Linked DNA regions of Homo sapiens: region 2 is linked to region 1. Evidence: promoter capture Hi-C in 16 types of primary human blood cells and fetal thymus (Javierre and others, 2016). All regions are on one chromosome and are shown on one strand. The core of a region is centred on a gene start or on the middle of the fragment in contact, and the rest is flanking DNA. Distances in the headings are between cores, read along the strand shown.

Region 1 (4,536 bases), core at 1,111-3,610:
AGACCTTGCACCATTCCACTCGTGCTCTCGGAGCCCTGCAGCTCCATGTGAACAAATTAGGCTAGCCTGTTAGTAGATGAGAGACATGCGACCTACTTGCCTCAGTTGGCAGCTAGCCACTTCCCAGAAGCAGAGCCTTCTGACTGCCTGGCGATGAACCCGGATGCATGAGGGAGTCCAGCTGAGACCAGAAGAACTGCCCAGCTAAGCCCAGCCTCAAATACTGACCCATAAAATCATGAACTAAATAAGTAGTTATTGTTTTAAGCCACAACTAAGTTTTGGGGTGTTTTATTATGCAGGAAACACTGATGGATACAAGCACTGAACATGCGTCAAGCTCTGGTATTTGCAATCAGGCAGACTCTCGGGAGTAAAGACTTGTGCAGAGATGATAGAATAATGGGTATAATGCACTAAGTGCTCTGGAGAAGCAAAAACAGTAGGAATAGAAGAGGTGGATTTGAGCTAGGGAGGGATCTTGTCTCTGTGGAGTTAGAGGGTCCAGGATGAACTGCCTGGGACAGGGGACTGTCTGAGGGAAAGTATGAATGTTGGAAACCCCAGGCTGGGGCCATCAGCCAGCAGTATATACTGAGCCCTTACCATGGGTACAGAAACACTGTACTGGCTGTCTCAAGTCTGCGTATGGACTAGCAGAGGAGAGAAGACATCCACGTGTAAAAGTTGGGTAGAAGTGTCATGCTGGTTTTCAGTGAAAACAGAAGTAGCTATGCCTGCTTTGTCCACAGTGGCAAGCAGCATCTCGGCTTGGGCAGAATGGGACTCTACCCATTAGTTATTTATATCTGGTACTTGCTATATATCTGGCAGGGATGTGGTGTTGATGGGTTGAGAGAGATCTCCATAGTTTTCCCTGGGAAGGCACAAGGGGTCAGAAAACATGGCTGCTTAAGTATCCACTTGACTGGTAACCCCTTGAGGGCAGGGTCTGTGTCTGATTCATGTCAGTATACCCCAAGACACAAGGCTTTGCATATACTAAGCAATCAGTTTCAAAAGACTTACTTTGGAGATATTTATCATCCTCTTCTCTTTATTCCTACTAACCTATTGTAGTTTTTTCCTAGGGCTGCTATAACAAATGGACATAAACTGGGTGGCAACAGAAATTTATTCACTTACAGCTCTGGAAGCTATTAAGTCCAAAATCAAGGTGTCTGGAGGGTTAGTTCCTTTTTGGAGGCTCTGAAGGAGGAATTATTCCCTGCCCGTTCCTAGCTTCTGGTCCCTGCTGGCAGTGCTTGGCACTCCTGGCCTTGGAAATGCATCAGCTGATCCCTGCCGCCATCACCACAGGTGGTTCTCCCTGTGCGTCTCTTCTGTGTCTCTTCTCTTACAACGACACCAGTCTCAGTGGATTAGGGGCCCGCCCTACTCCAGCATGACCTTAACTCATTACATCTGCAACGGCCCTACTTCCAAATAAGATCACATTCTGATGAACTTTAACATATTGTTGGGGGTGGAGAGGGCATAAGTAACCCTTAACATCCATCGAGGCCCAAGGGAATGTGTGTTCTTTGACTGCCTAGACCCCCTAGAGGCGGAATTAAATATTCTTTTTTTTTTCTTTGAGACAGAGTCTCACTCTGTCCACTCAGGTTGGAGTGCCCATCTCGGCTCACTGCAACCTCCGCCTCCCGGGTTCAAGCGATTCTCCTGCCTCAGCATCCCGAGTAGCTGCGGCTACAGGCGCCTGCCACCACGCCCGGCTAATTTTTGTATTTTTAGTAGAGACGGGGGTTTTGCCATGTTGGCCAGGCTGGTCTCGAACTCCCGACCTCAGGTGATCCGTCTACCTCGGCCTCCCAAAGTGCTGGGATTACAGGCGTGAGTCGCCGCGCCCCGCCCTCAAGTCATATTTTATAGATGAGAACATTAGGATTGGAGACGCAGGGCCGAGACACAGGGCCTTGCATATACTAAAAACCTCAATGGGCACCCGAAGTCATCATAGGAAAATTTCCCTATGCTCCATGTTCACGTGTTTCAAAGTATCCCTGATCTGGCTAATTCAACTCCATTCCCTCGAGAAAACCCAATCTGGAGCCCCGGTCCTAGAGATCCTGGGATGTACTGCGCGTCCCACTCTGTATCTCCGCCCCCTCAGGCGTTCTCCCTCTAGAAGCAGCACACAAAGCGGTTACTCCCTGCGGCCGGGAGCGCGCGGGCTGCCCTTCCGCGCGCCACCCCCGCGCGCGCCGCTCCCCCACTGATTGGCTGAGCGCATCCCGAGCCCAGCCTGCTCCCGCCGCGGCGCCGGTCCTGGCGCCGGGATTGGCGGAGTGGCCGCGCGCGCAGATCCCGCAGCCCCGCGCGCCCCGCCCCGCCGGCTCGGAACTCGCCTGGGGCGCCGCCGGCGGCGGAGGGAGCGTGACTGCGCTGCGCAGGGCGCTAGGAGGCATTGTCGCCGTAAGTGGAGCCAAAAGCGGCCCGGAGCGGGACCACACGCTTCTTGCCCCGCAAAGTAAATGTAGTCCGAGGTCAAGCGTTGCAGGGGCTGGGGGAGAGAGGGCGAGAAGTGTTCCGATTTTTGCAGCGTCCCCTCCCCTCCCCCAGGTCACCCGGTGGAAAAGAGCAGCGGTGCACCAGCGGAGGCTCTGGCGGTGCCAAGGGGCTCGGCATGCGCGGGCTCTTGCTTGCTCACTGCACCTGGACCCCGATGGTTCAGGGGAGTGGGTGCAGAGGTGCCAGGGAATAGGGAGCTCGGAGAACCGCTCCCAGGCGGGCCTCCATTCCTCGCGGGAGGCGCCCTTGCTTGGAGAGGCTGCTGTGCATTTCGTCCCCGAAGCGACACTTTCGGGGTTTGCTTCCGCTCTGGGGAGCTGCAGACGCCTGCTCCAGAGCGTGCCTCTCGGCCTCCGGGCAGCGTGGGAGCCCCGGGGCCTCTGCGATCACTACCATTCTTCCCTCTGCCAGCTTTATTCTCCCAGTCCCCGCCTGCCGGGCCAGCGGACGAGGTGCCATTGGCTGCAGGCACCGGGGGTGAGGCGGATCCTGGCACGCGGGGCTGGGGGACCCTTGCCTGGCTACCGCGCGTAGTGCTGGAGGCTCAGTCCGAGGATGCCTAGATGTTAGCGAGGGAGCACGCGCTGAGCTTCCCGAACCCCATGCCACAAAAACAAGGCGCCAGCAGGTCCCGCTCACGTCCCAGCGGGCTTCTTTCCCTGGGGTGGGGAAGTGGGTCAACTTCGTTCTGATCTGAAGGGGGGTTTGGGACTATTTGGGTCGCTCCTCACCTCCCCACCCGCTCCCCGGCTTGGCATGGTCCAGAGCCCGGGCTGGAGCCAGCGGTAGGGCCAGCTTGCACACATGGCTCCGGAGGCTCCGGTTGCCCATCCGAGCCCCTGCCAGGCTCTAACGTTCCCAACTGACAACACCAGTAACTAAATATAGGAGCAGATGGTGGGGACGGGCTGTCGCAGCGGCTCCTTTGCAGAGGTCTCCGGACTGCAGATAAGGTAGAGTTATTGATGGTAAGGGCTGGAGTCAGGGGGCCAGGTCAGGGTTTAAGCAAAAATCACCCCTCCCCCAGCCAGCCTGAGTCCAGGTGAAACCAGGTTATAGGGACAGGAGGGCTGTATTGCCAGCTCCCCCAAAGCAGGACAACGTTTTTGTCTGGCATTGAATTTATTACATCCAAACTTCCTCTCTACACCTGTTTGATTACCTACTGGTAATGCCTTGGTGTGGGAAACATGTAATGGTTCGCAAAGTCCTTTCCCAAAAGTTACATATCAGTTACTTCCCACAATAATCCGGTGAGGAAGGTGGTATTTCCATTTTACAAATGGGACTGCTCACAACACTGTTAACTTTGCAAAACTATGGATTAGGCTGCCTTCCTCAAAAAACTTCTCTTAGTTCGCTACACAGAAGCAGAGGACAGCCTTGTAAGAGGGCTGCAGTTCCCTTCCTCAGTAATCTGGGAGCCCATTGGCTCCCTGTCTCTCTCTCTCCTGAATCTCTTTGTGCACCTGCTGCTCACCCCTGTCCCTTCCCCCTGGCCATGCCATGTGCCTTCATGCCCCCCTAGGCCTGGCCCTGTAGCCTTACTACTATCAGGCTCATCCTGCCTCCCAGTGGGAAGCTTGTTCTAGCCCATACCCAGTCTCTGCCCCTTTACTCCCACAGTGGGGGCCTTATGGAAGGTGTCCAGGAGACGTTTGCTGGATTTAAACATTTCACCGGACCAGGATGCTCACTCTGAGGAATGGGGTTGAGGGTGTGTGGAGAGGGCCATGCTTTGAGGATGTAGGCAGTGTGAGTATGAGCTTCGACCCTGTGCTGAAGTGTCTCTGGGATTTGGAGTGCTTTCCCTGACATTTTCTAAGGCCTACCCTCTATTGCCTGGGACTGGCTGGGGCCAGTAGTGCCAGCTGGCTGGGGTGCCCCAAGCGGCGATCTGGCCCATGTGGGCTGATGGTGTCTGTTTCTGCCTTTTGGAACACTCTGTGACTCTCCACTACCACCATCCCTGCAGATGGCATTGACCAGGTACCCTGAGGAGCT
Region 2 (4,536 bases), core at 1,014-3,513, 270 kb after region 1:
AATGCTATAAATCTAAAACGAGGTCTGTTTTTTTAAAAAAGTTCTAAAACAACAGGAGGAAAACACATGGAAAGAAACCCCTCGCGGAGACCTGCTTCCTTACAGATGGAGGCTCTTTTGGAGGAGAGTGTGAAGGGCAGAGGGCTCCCTGCGCCGGCAGGACCTGCCCGGCCACCCTCCACTCCCCTGCCATCACCCCTCCTCTCTCCTTTTAAAAAGCAAAACCCCACTCTTGGGACTCGGGTCGTCCTCCGATCCCTGCTGGAAAGTGCGGCGGCTACTTGGCGTCGAGCTTGGCCATCTCCTGCACGTAGATGCCGATGCTCTCGCTGTCGAAGAGCAGGAAGTACACGTTCTTCAGCGAGGACGCGCTCGAGTCATCAAAGTGGGCTGAGATGGCTTTGAGGGTCACCTGGGCCGCAGTCTGTTTGGGAAAGCAGTTTCTGTGCCAAAGCAAAAGAAGAGCCGATGTCATTTTGGTCCCTGGGACCCATGGGAGCATGAAGTGCCTTTGTTTTTACTGGGTGGGGCCTTGCTGTGTGCAGGGCTAGTCCATGCATGATCTCCTTTGACCCTAGCCAAAGGGACAGCCTGGGGGTGGCAGGTGGGGCATGTTGCCCCCACTTTATAGGTGTCACACTGACTCGGAGAGGCACAATGATTTAATTTGATTAAATTAATTTATTTGTTTTGGGATGGAGTCTCTCTCTGTTGCCCAGGCTGGAGTGCAGTGGCGCGATCTCAGCTCACTGCAACCTCCACCTCCCGGGTTCAAGCGATTCTCCTGCCTCAGCATCCCAAGCAGCTGGGACTACAAGTGCGCACCATCATGCCTGGCTAATTTTTGTATTTTTAGTAGAGACGGGGTTTCACCATGTTGGCTAGGCTGGTCTTGAACTCCTGACCTCAGGTGATCCGCCTGCCTCGGCCTCCCAAAGTGCTGGGATTACAGGTGTGAGCCACCGTGCCCTGCCAAGCACAATGATTTTAGTCAAGGTCACAGGGCTGGCCAAGTGAAGAGTGCCCTGTATTTTATTTTTTATTATACTTTTTTTAAATTAGTTTTTTTTTCAGAGGCAAAGTCTTGCTCCATCACTCAGGCTAGAGTGCAGTGGTGTGATCATAGCTCACTGCAGCTTCAAACCTCTGGGCTCAAGCTATCTGTCTTCTGCCTCAGCCTCCTCAGTAGCTGGGACTAAAGGCGTGTGCCTATAAAAAAATTTTTTTTTTTAAATTTTTTGTAGAGATGGGTCTTGTTATGTTGCCCAGGCTGGTCTCGAACTCCTGGCCTCAAATGATCCTCCTGCCTCAGCCTCCTAAAGCTTTTGGATTTACAGGCGTGAGCCACCGTGCCAGCTCCCTATATTTGATTCTATGTCACCTGACCAAGTCAAGCTTGGCTTTAAAAATGCTAGCCATTCAGCATTAAAAATACCTGGTCTTCAAACAAGCAAACAGAAGTTTTATTAGCTCCCTCCAAACTGGTTTATATACTAACCCAATTGCTTAGTAAAGGGCAAAAATGTATGCTCCAAACCTGTCTTCGTAAGTCCTTTTTTATGCACTTAATATTTCATAGGCACAGGCCCATGTAATTTCAGCATTGTGACTCCGGGCATGGCGGGGTTAATGAAAGTTTGTTAAAGGCCCCAGGTTCCAGGGAGCTACTGATAGTGCCATCCACCAGGCTGGGCCACAGCACCAGCTTCCAGGGACACAGCCAGAATGGTCGTTAGGGGTCAGCCACAGAGACCCCTGGAGCAGGTCCAGGAGGGGCCTGTTAATAGGAATTCTTCCCAATCGCATGTATTCCAGCACAGAACAGCACTGCCGTGGTTCCACCGACGAAAGAATGCATCTCACAGCATCTCTGGGCCTGGAATGCTGAGACTCAATGCTGCTTGCCTAGGTTGATGTGTGATTACAGCAGGAACCTAGGTCTCATTATTTTCCTCTTGGGCTTCCCAGGACACAGCTATAAACCATAGCTATATTATAAAGGACAGCTCTCAAGGTGAGAGGGTGTTCAAAATTAAAGCAATAGATTGGCTAGGGGCATGAAGGGAAAGGATATGTTTTATGTGACAGCAGATATCCTCATTATGTATCTGAAACAATGCCCAGCTGGGATCTGTGACAATCCAGTCATTGCCCAGTCTCCTTTTCAGCAATCACTCGGGGACAGATTTTCACTTCTCTGGGTGTATTCATCAAAGCCTCGAACTCCTGGCTCTGCAGTCTCCCAGAGCAGCAACGGAATTCTCTGGGGATTCTGGAGCCAGAGGTCGGAGATGGGGGGCCTGAGATTCTGCATTCTGACATCGGTCACTGCTGCCTATGGACCACACTTTGAGTAGCAAGGCCTTCGAGCCTGGCGTTTTCTGATCATGTGTCCTGGACATGGACAGCTGGTGGGAATATGGACTTTGAACCTGGAAGGCTCTCAAAAAATAACACACCAGCTGGCCTCTGCCTCCCGCTCCTCCCCTGGGCTAGCCTTCCTCCTGGGGCTTTAACATCAAGGAGGCACTGGGGCTGGCCCCAGCCGGGGAAGACCTGCTGCCTAGGAGCCAGTGGGCTCGCTTCCCCATGGTTTCTGAAGGATGAAAACCGGGTTTCCTGCCCTGTCATCTGGTCAGCATACTTGGCTGTGCTGGCAGCCCTTGGCAACACCCAGATCAGATGTAAGTGGGGGAGCAGCTGATTTCCAGGGAAAAAGCCGGAGGAATCAACTCAGGGGAACTGCATCTTACCTGCCGCTGGGGAAAGGCGGGAACGCGACGGACTTTAGCTTCTTGTCCTCCGCCGCTGACAGGCAGTTTTTGATGGTCTCTTCAAGCTGTTCTTCACATTTGTCGGAGCCCCACTGAGGGATGTGACAGTGGATGACAAATTTGGCTGCGAGTCCACTGGATTGGCTGACGGCGGCTGGGACATAGGAGAGAAAATGCCGCGGGTTATTTCCTAAGGTTTCCTAGGTTATAGCCTAACCTCATCAGGTACCTGTTAGATCTGGAGATAAGGCAGTGATAGAGACGTTGGCTGGGCAGCATCCTGTGCTCCTGATGTGGACTATGTTTAACGAGAGCAAGAGCTGGGCTGTATTGCTTTGCACAGTTAGCACAAGCTTTGGGTAGAAGCGTTTAATGCTGCTCTGATGCGCCATTTTCATATGGTCTGCCAAGTAGTCCCTGGGTTGGGCTACCTCCTCACAATGGTTCCTAGTTAAAGGGACACATCAGATCCTCTCTGGTGGCTGTGGCAGGTAAAGTAATGGCATCCCAAAACATCCACGTCCTCCTCCCTGAAACCTGTGGGTGTTCCCGTACATGGCAAAAAGGACTTTGCAGATGTGATTAAGTGAAGGCTCTTGAGATGGGGAGATGATCCTGGACTGTCTGGGTGAGCCTGGGACCTGATAAGAGGGAGGCAAGAAGGTCAAAGGCAGGAGAAGGCCGTGGGATGAAGGAGACAGAGATTGGAACGATGCAGCCAGGAGCCAAGGAATGTTGCAGCTTAGAAGCTGGAAAAGGCAAGGAAGGGATCCTTCCCTGAGCCTCCAGAAGGAACCAGCCCTGCCAACACCTGGATCTTAGACTCTTAAAACTCATTGTGGACTTCTGGCCTCCAGAACTGTAAGAAGACAAATTTGTGTTGTCTGAAGCCACGAACTTTGTGGTAATTTGTTACAGTAGCCACAGGAAATGAATACAGTGGCTTTTATTTTTATTTTTTTATTTTTAGTTTTTTTTTGAGACAGAGTCTTTTTCTGTCGCCCAGGCTGGAGTGCAGTGGTGCGATCTCAGCTCGCTGCAACCTCCACCTCCTGGGTTCAAGTGATTCTAGTGCCTCAGCCTCTCGAGTAGCTGGGATTACAGGCATGTGCTAATTTTTAAAATTTTTTTATAGAGATGAGGTTTTGCTATGTTGCCCAGACTGGTCTTGAACTCCAGGGCTCAAGTGATCCTCTTGCCTCAGGCACCCAAAGTGCTGGGATTACAGGCGTGAGCCATCACACCTGGCCTACTGTGGCTTTTAAAAAATAGCTGTGCCTGGGCCCCACAGAGTCAGGGTACTGACCACCCAGAGGTCCTGACTCAGTAGGTCTGGTGCAGGGGCTTATGCTTATGTGATTTTAGGACCTTCTATGAGTTGAGAACCACTGAACTTGATTGTGTAGTTCCTTGACAGGGACTGCCATTTGATGATCTCCACATGCCCTGCAGAGAGTGGGGTTTCAAAAGCGGGCTGTGAAACTGAATTAGGCCAGCCTTGTCTCACAATTTCTGTCATACTCCTTTGTTTTACTGTTTACTCCCCTAAATGTGGTTCCCATTGGTGACAGAGTTGATAAAGCCCCGTGGCTGCTAAGCTCGAGGGAAGTCCCTGTGGGACTCCCCAGGGGAGCAGTTCCCTCGGATCTGCCTGAGGCAGCTGCAGCTTCAGCCATGAGCCATGCTTGCCCCCACGCTGCCCGTCTGCGCCCTGTGCCCCTCCAGGAACCCAGGAATCGGCGTAGCAAGGGTCCGTGGCCAC

What was found. The method cuts DNA at HindIII sites, captures the fragments that hold promoters and counts their contacts. A CHiCAGO score of 5 or more calls a contact.
Region 2: a contact is called between a fragment that was not itself captured here and the fragment with the promoter of LRRC20 in region 1, in 1 of 17 cell types (activated CD4 T cells). The highest score is 5.6, in activated CD4 T cells.

The regions. Positions count from the first base shown.
Region 1 is chr10:70,380,449-70,384,984 of GRCh38, reverse strand. It overlaps LRRC20 (leucine rich repeat containing 20), which reads left to right and starts at 2,360. Exons shown (of 5, transcript NM_001278212.2): 1 at 2,360-2,436. RefSeq lists enhancers at 1,856-1,955, 2,486-2,685, 2,530-3,149 and a silencer at 2,086-2,455. The HindIII fragment of the contact is 9,077 bases long and covers 1-4,116 here.
Region 2 is chr10:70,107,425-70,111,960 of GRCh38, reverse strand. It overlaps MACROH2A2 (macroH2A.2 histone), which reads right to left. Exons shown (of 9, transcript NM_018649.3): 8 at 2,754-2,928; 9 at 1-443. The coding sequence ends at 278. Among named protein-coding and RNA genes, the nearest start is that of AIFM2, 23 kb to the left of the region's middle. RefSeq lists an enhancer at 4,396-4,475. The HindIII fragment of the contact is 1,732 bases long and covers 1,398-3,129 here.